2 separate regions of the Homo sapiens genome follow, and region 2 is linked to region 1. Evidence: promoter capture Hi-C in 16 types of primary human blood cells and fetal thymus (Javierre and others, 2016). All regions are on one chromosome and are shown on one strand. Each heading gives the region's core, a stretch centred on a gene start or on the middle of the fragment in contact. The rest is flanking DNA. Distances are from core to core; before and after follow the strand shown. Region 1 holds the start of TYROBP (transmembrane immune signaling adaptor TYROBP). Region 2 overlaps HAUS5-DT (HAUS5 divergent transcript).

Region 1 (4,325 bases), core at 1,398-3,897:
ACTTTAAAAAAAAAAAAAAAATTAAGGCCGGGCGCGGTGGCTCACACCTCTAATCCCAGCACTTTGGGAGGGAAAGGTGGGCGGATCACGAGGTCAGGAGATTGAGACCAGCCTGGCCAACATAGTGAAACCCCATCTCTACTAAAAATACAAAAATTAGCCGGGTGTGGTGGCATGCACCTGTAGTTCCAGCTACTCGGGAGGCTCAGGCAAGAGAATCGCTTGAACCTGGGAGGTGGAGGTTGCAGTGAGCTGAGACCACACCATTGCACTCCAGCCTGGGTGACAGAATGAGACTCCATCTCAAAAAAAAAAAAAAATTAAAGTAGAGAAAGAAAAAAGAGCTTCAAGAATACTCAACCAGCATGGTTGCTTGAGCCTGTAATCCCAAGATTTTCGGAGGCTGAGGCGGGAGGATCACTTGAGACTGGGAGTTTGAGACCAGCTGGGGCAACATAGTGAGACCCCTGTCTTTTTTTTTTTTTTGAGATGGAGTCTCACTCTGTCGCCCAGGCTCACTGCAACCTCCGCCCCCTGGGTTCAAGCGATTCTCTTGCCTCAGCCTCCTGAGAAGCTGGAATTACAGGCGCATGACACCATGCCCAGCTAATTTTTGTATTTTTAGTAGAGATGGGGTTTCACCATCCTGGCCTGGCTGGTCTTGAACTCCTGACCTCGTGATCCACCCACCTTGGCCTCCCAAAGTGCTGGGATTACAGGTGTGTGCCACCATGCCTGGCCAAAAAAAAATTTTTTTTAATTATAAAGAACATTTACACTGCTCTCAGATTATATGCACAATTTTGTATTTTTTGTGTAGATTTTTCTGGGAGTCTAGATTTTCTTAGTTTCTCAAAGGGATGAAGGGTCCTCAAACCCAAAAAAGAGATTCTAGGACTCCTCTCTTTAGAGTTACCAAGGTAGGGCTGAATGACATTCTCTGCCCTACTGAGAGCGTCTCCCAGAAATCAGTCGTCCTAGGGCTGGGTTTCTTCCAGAAAATTCCTGGCCTGACTTCTGGCAAGGCCTGTGTTTACACTTACAAAGGCAAAGCCACCCTTTTTTTTTTCTTTTTAACTCTTCACGCTTTTTTTTTTTTGACAGAGTTTTCCTCTTGTTGCCCAGGCTGGAGTGCAATTGCGTGATCTTGGCTCACTGCAACCTCCGCCTCCTGGGTCAAAGGATTCTCCTGCCTCAGCCTCCCAAGTAGCTGGGATTACAGGCATGCGTTACCACGCCCAGCTAATTTTGTATTTTTAGTAGAGACAGGGTTTCACCATGTTGGTCTCGAACTCCTGACCTCAAGTGATCCACCCGCCTCTGTCTCCCAAAGTGCTGGGATTACAGGTTTGAGTCACCGTGCCCAGCCCCTCTTCACACATTTTAAGCTGACCATAAGCTTGTGGTTGATCATTCGGCCCAGTTTTGGACAGATGTCCCATGTGCCTTCAAGGTTTGGGGGTGCTTTAGGCAGAGTGGCTTTGAGGTCCCTCTGATGGCATGAAGGAGTATCTGGGGCAGATATCCCTGGCAGGAGTGAAATGTGAGGAGGACAGTCTGGTTTTCTCACCTGATAAGGCGACTCGGTCTCAGTGATACGCTGTTTCCGGGTCGCTGCTGGAGGTGAGGGGTGTTGTGGGGTGCAGAGACAGGCAGAGTGGTGAGTTGAGGGTGTTTTGTCATTCCAAATCAGCACCTCCATTACCATCCCTTTGGATGTTTGAGATCTGGGAGTTTACCCAGCCCCCCACCCCCATCTAGGCAAGTCCTCAGGATGTCCCCTGCTAGCCCCACTCACCCTCCGCAGCCCCTCGCCCCCGAGGGACCAGCCGGCCCAGGAAGTACACGGCCAGGGCAATGAGCACTGTCAGCACCAGGTCTCCCATCACGATCCCTGCCAGCACGCCCGGGCTCACCGTAGAGCAACTGCAATCTGCAGCACAGGGGTCAGGGGAGGTCAGTGTGTGCTGGGAACTGTGGGGAGGGGGGTCAGCGGCAGGGAGGTTTGGAAAGGGTGTGGGAGAGACGGAGACAGGGAGGTCTCTGGGAGGTAGAGAGAGGGACTGCTGGGTCTAGGCCTACCGCTCTGGGCCTGGGCCTGGACAGGACGGAGACCTGAGGAGGAAAAAGAAGGTAAACTGAGGCACAGAGTTATGACGGGGGTGGGGGAGGCAAGTTTAGAAGCCAGGGAAGGTGGATCCTGACAGCCAAGAGGTTAGCAAGGGGGAGAGCGTGTCTGGCGGGACTCAGGGGGCTGGCGTCTGGGCCACCGGACTATGTGCGTTACTTCTGCACAACTTGTCCTGTGGCAACACACTTAGATGTCTCTTCTCCCCTGCTTGTAGCGGACGACAAAACTTGGGGGCTTGGGCTCTGGGAGAAACCCACAGGCTTTGGGAGGTTGGGGACCTGCTCCCATCCCAACACCCACTTTTGGTTCTCTCGTTCCACCCCACTCCCTGCCCTGCCCCAAGCTGAGCCCAGGGACCCGGGAGGCAGCCACGGAAGCCCCTAACTCACCACTTACAGCCAGCAGGAGAGGCAGGAGCAGGAGCCTGCTGCAGGGTTCAAGTCCCCCCATGAAGCCGGATGCTGCTGGACACCACAGTGTAAGGGCCGGTGGGATGTGGCGCAGCGTCCAGGCAAGTGAAGGAGGAAGTCTGAGGCGGGTGGTGGCAGAAGGGAGGAGGAGACAGGGGAGGAGAGACAGAAACAAAACCCAAGAAAGAATCAGGCCCAGACACCCAGGGGCCATGCCACAGGCCCCCAGCAACTAGACGTGAAGGGCAAAGGGTACGTGAAGCACAAACTTCACCTCCGTCCCCAGTCAGGGGTCAGACATCGTTTTAACAGGAGGGTCAGTGTCATGACCTTCCTCTGGCTGATTGAAACCAGCTCTGCCTCTTCCTGGCTGGTCAACCTTGAGTGCAATGGCACGGTCTCGGCTCACTGCAACCTCTGCCTCCCGGGTTCAAGTGATTCTCCTGCCTCAGCCTCCCAAGTAGCTGGGATTATAGGCGCCTGCCACCATGCCCGGCTAATTTTTTGTATTTTTTTTTCTTTTTTTTTTAGTAGAGACAGGGTTTCACCATGTTGGCCAGCTGGTCTCAAACTCCTGACCTCAGGTGATCCACCCACCTTGGCCTCCCGAAGTGCTAGGATTGCAAGTGTGAGCCACCGCACCCAGCTCCAACCTCAGTTTCTTCATCTGTAAAATTGGGAGTAAAATGGGACCTACTTTTTAGAGTTGTGGGGATTAAATGAATTAAAGTTCCTAGACCAGGGTCTGACCCTTGTCAGCTTTTTAAAAGCATCAGCTATGATGATGATTATTTAATCATCAGAAACTTGTGCTGTTTAAAGGATATTAAAAGAGCCAGCAGCATGTGGGCACTAATGACATGCAGGCACTCTGTCCCAAGCGTTAAATCATTCAGTCCCCGCAATGCCCTTCTAGGGCACATGCTCTTATCATCCCCATTGTTCAGAGAGGTAGAGACGCTTGCCTAAGGCTGCACAGCAAATCAAGGTGGAAATGGAACCCAAGACCCAAAATCAGGTTTTTGACTAGGGAAGAGTCAGGGGGAAAAACAAAGATGAAAGATGGGGAAGGAGAAAACAGCGGCAAAGCTGAGAAAGGTGAGAGTAAGGCAGTGGCACAGACACAGAGGCACGGCTGGCGGCTTGGGGAGAGGCAGGTGGCTGGCTCTCCTGCTGAATGAGGAAGTGGCTGGGAGCAAGGCCCAAGGGAGGCCACCCCAAGGAGACGGGGACTTCTAGCCCCCAGCTGGAGCCTGGGGCTGGGGAAGGAGGAACCTGAGGTTAGGGTGCTGGAGGATGAGACAGCTGCAGGAAGCCCCCCTCCCCCATCCACACGTCACACCCACCGCTCCTTGGGCCTGGGCTTAGGAGAAAAAAGGGGAAACTGGATTCTGGTCACAGGGCAGATGCCCAGTGGCCTGTGGGGGAAGGGAGGAGAGGAGATTTGGAGCCTGGAGGAGGGTCAGGTCCCAGCTCAGCCCACGGTCACCACTGTTCAGGCCTGGCTGAGTCCCCTCCCTTAAAAACCCAAGCCTCTCCCATTGTGTCTAGAGCGAGCATGGAGGGAACAGACCCTGTAGGTCCTCCCGGGCACACCAGGCCACCCAATGTGTTGGAGCAGAGTGGGCGAGGGGGCAGTCAGAGACCAGAGCAGGGCTCTGAGCCAGGAGGGCCCTGACCTGACTCAGGGGTTCACAGGTTCCCTCCGGCCGCAGGTGGGGAGCAGACTGTGGAGGCAGGGACTGGAGCAGGGAGGCCAGGCTGCTGGGATATTTGTGAGGATA
Region 2 (3,886 bases), core at 988-3,487, 300 kb before region 1:
ATTACCTTGTGACATTCCTTCTCCTGGACAATAAGTCTCCGGAGCTCCCCACCGAGCACCTTGTGACCCCCGCCCCTGCCTGCAAGAGAACAACCCCCTTTAACTGTAATTTTCCACTACCTACCCAAATCCTATAAAACTGCCTCACTCCTATCTCCCTTTGCTGACTCCTTTTTCGGACTCAGTCCGCCTGCACCCAGGTGATTAAAAAGCTTTTACTGCTCACACAAAGCCTGTTTGATGGTCTCTTCACACGGACGCACGTGACAAAAATAAAATCCTAAGTCCGCCAACTGGCTGAATGAACACTGTCTTGGCCAAGGGGCCTACAGAGAAACACTAAAAGCTGAGTTCCTAGCCGTGACTGAACGGGTGGTCGGGCACACCTCATTCTACCTCCTCCCTTGCTGACTGCCATGAAGCTTTCTTCCCTAAGGGTTAAACAGAAACCAGCCCTATTGAAAGACTCATTCACTGCTAATTTCAACCAATGGCCTGAAATACATGGCTGCTCCTCCCTTTTGTGGTTTCAACATAACAACTGACCAGCATTCCTTCCTGATCAGAGGCCACCTAACCACGGGGTGTGGCTCTGGCCAGTCTACAGAGGCTGCACACAAAGGGCCTTTGTGTCCTCTGCATCACCTTTTGATGTATAGGGCCTAATTGTAATACATTTAAGTGTTAAGTCTCCACTCCAAAGTGAACATGGGGCCTGGCACGGTGGCTCACGCCTGTAATCCCAGCACTTTGGGAGGCCAAGGTGGGCGGATCACCTGAGGTCAGGAGTTTGAGACCAGCCTGGCCAACATGGTGAAACCCTGTCTCTACTAAAAATAAAAAAATTAGCCAGGCATGGTGATGGGTGCCTGTAATCCCAGCTACTCATGAGGCTGAGGCAGGAGAATTGCTTGAACCCTGGGAAAGAGAGGTTGCAGTGAGCTGAGATCGCACCACTACACTACAGCCTGGGTGACAGAGTAAGACTCCATCTCAAAAAAAAAAAAAAAAAAAAAAAAAAGTGAATATGGGATGTTACTACACATGTGCTGTACCTTCCCTTCATGAATATTCATAGCTCCTCCTATAACCTGTTGAATATGTATACTGAGCCAAGCCATTCAGCGTTAACTCTGACCTTATCCTTCCCTTACTGGAGGTGCCTGCTCTCAGCTTCTACCGGAGGCTACACTTCTCGGCCTGTGAGATGGCCCGGCTGCAGGCTGCAACTCTTTATGAGAAATAAAGCTCTCCTTTCCAAATTTGTAAACCTGTATTAGTCTGTTCTCACGCTGCTGAAAAGAACTGCCCAAGACTGGGTAATTTATAAAGGAAAGAGGTTTAATTGACTCACAGTTCCGCAGGGTTGGGGAGGCCTCAGGGAACTTAAAATCATGGTGGAAAAGAAAGCAAAAACGTCCTTCCTCAGATGGCAGCAGGAAGGAGAAGTGCCAAGCAAAGAGGGAAAAGCCCCTTATAAAACCATCAGATCTCGTGAGAACTCACTATCTCAAGAACAGCAGCATGGGGGTAACCACCCCCATGATTCGATTACCTCCCACTAGGTCCCTCCCACAACACATGGGGATTTGGGGAACTACAATTCAAGATGAGATTTGGGTGGGGACAGCCAAACCATATCAAAACCTCATGATTCTTCAGTTGACATCTAATCTGAGCTACCATGGTCTATCAAAAAACCACAGCTCTTGAGGGGATCTCAATGGCTGTTAACAAACTGGTTAGAGTTCTGGTCAGGTTCTGATTGTAGAGAGCCTCTGTAACAGATATGGATTGCCTCCTTCCCCCCACCCTCCTTGTTATTTTTATTTCATTTTATTAAATTTTTTTTTGAGACAGGGTCACACTATGTCACCCAGACTGGAATGCAGTGGCACAATCTCAGCTCACTGCAACTTCTGGCTCCCAGGTTCAAGTGATTCTCATGCCTCAGCCTCCTGAGTAGCTAGGACTACAGGTGCATGCCACCATGCCCAGCAAATTTTTATATTTTTTGTAGAGACAGGGTTTTGCCATGCTGCCCAGACTGGTCTCAAACTCCTGAGCTCAACCAATCTGTCTGCCTTGGCCTCCCAAAGTGCTGGGATTATAGGCGTGAGCCACTGTTCCCAGCCATGATTTTTATTTAACAAATACTCATTATTTAACAAATACTTTCTGAGCACCTACTGTGTCCCAGGCATTGTCTTGGGAACGAGGAACACAACGGAGCAAGAGAAGTAAGGCCAACTTCTTCTCTGATGGAGCTTACATTCTAGTGGGAAAGAAAACTATAAACAAGTATACCCAAAAATAAACAAGATAATTACAGGGAATGGTAAATGCTATAGAGAAAAATAAAACAGAATAAGAAGCTAAAGTGGTGCCAGGACTGGTCCAGCAACTATTATGGTGTTGGGAGCAAGCCCCCCAAAATATGGCCATAAACTGACCCCAAGACTGGCCACAAACAAAATCTCCACAGCACTGTGACATGTTCATAATGGCCCTAACGCCCAAGCTGGAAGGTTGTGGGTTTACGGGAATGAGGGCAAGGAACACCTGGCCCGCCCAGAGTGGAAAACCACTTAAAGGCATTCTTAAGCCACAAACAATAGCATGAGCGATGTGTGTCTTAAGGACGTGTTCCTGCTGCAGTTAACTAGCCCAACCTATTCCTTTAATTCGGCCCATCCCTTCGTTTCCCATAAGGGATACTTTTAATTTAATATCTATAGAAACAATGCTAATGACTGGTTTGCTGTTACTAAATATGTGGGTAAATCTCTGTTCGGGGCTCTCAGCTCTGAAGGCTGTGAGACCCCTGATTTCCCACTTCACACCTCTATATTTCTGTGTGTGTGTGTTTAATTCCTCTAGCACCAGTGGGTTAGGGTCTCCCCAACCGAGCTGGTGTCTGCAATGGTGTGCCACCAGATAAGTACGGAAATTGCCAGCAAGTGTTTAGAAACACAGCAATTTGACATATCCATGACATCCAAGTATAGGATCAATGGATTTTCTTGTTGAACAGGGTAGAGACCAAAAGGATTGGTCCATGACAGGTTGGAAACATCAAACAAATGATCCTTCTCCATAGTTACAAGTAGTTTGAGATACACTGAGCTAGTGGGCAATGATGTCTACAAGGTATATTATTTAGAGTCATGCTAGCTGCTATAACAAATAAACCCCACCATTTCAGTAGCTCACAAAATAAAAGTTCTTTTTTTTTTTTTTTTTGAGACGGAGTTTCACTTTTGTTGCCCAGGCTGGAGTGCAATGGCACGATCTCAGCTCACAACAACCTCTGCCCCCTGGGTTCAAGCGATTCTCCTGCCCCAGCCTCCCAAGTAGCTGAGATTACAGGCATGCACCACCACACCCGGCTGATTTTTTTGTATTTTTAGTAGAGACGGGGTTTCTCCATGTTGGTCAGGCTAGTCTCAAACTCCTAACCTCAGGTGATCCACCTGCCTCAGCCTCCCAAAGTGCTGGGATTACAGGCATGAGCCATCACGCCCAGCCAGAAGCTCATTTCTTACTGTTCCTTTGAGCACATTCCAGCATCAGGGTCTTTCCACTTGCTGTTCCCACTTTGGGAACTCCATTTTCACAGTTTTCAAGTAGCTCTCACACTTTGGCTCTCACGTCTCAGCTCAAAGAACATCTTAGAAAGGCCTTCTGTGGCAGAGCCAGCAGGATGTTTATTGACTGCCTAGACCAGGACTACATTTCCCAGAGGCCCTTGCAGCTAGTTGAAGCCATAAGACAAGTTATGTTCAATGGACTGAGAGCAGAAGTGATGTATGTCACTTTAGGGTGAAGACTTTCAAGAAGCAGGTGCGAGTTCCTTATTCTCTCTTCTGCCTGGATTCAAAAGACT

Evidence for each region. Contacts are between HindIII fragments. The CHiCAGO score rates a contact against its expected background, and 5 or more counts as called.
Region 2: a fragment that was not itself captured here is called in contact with the fragment with the promoter of TYROBP in region 1 in 2 of 17 cell types (neutrophils and fetal thymus); the score reaches 6.0 in neutrophils.

The regions. Positions count from the first base shown.
Region 1 is chr19:35,905,648-35,909,972 of GRCh38, forward strand. TYROBP (transmembrane immune signaling adaptor TYROBP) reads right to left here and starts at 2,648. Exons shown (of 5, transcript NM_003332.4): 1 at 2,521-2,648; 2 at 2,083-2,115; 3 at 1,799-1,933; 4 at 1,571-1,617. The coding sequence starts at 2,581. RefSeq lists a silencer at 1,660-1,813 and enhancers at 3,625-3,754, 3,905-3,954, 4,055-4,164. The HindIII fragment of the contact is 5,164 bases long and covers 1,398-4,325 here.
Region 2 is chr19:35,604,704-35,608,589 of GRCh38, forward strand. HAUS5-DT (HAUS5 divergent transcript) reads right to left here. Exons shown (of 2, transcript NR_186318.1): 2 at 3,686-3,886. Among named protein-coding and RNA genes, the nearest start is that of HAUS5-DT, 6.0 kb to the right of the region's middle. The HindIII fragment of the contact is 3,634 bases long and covers 421-3,886 here.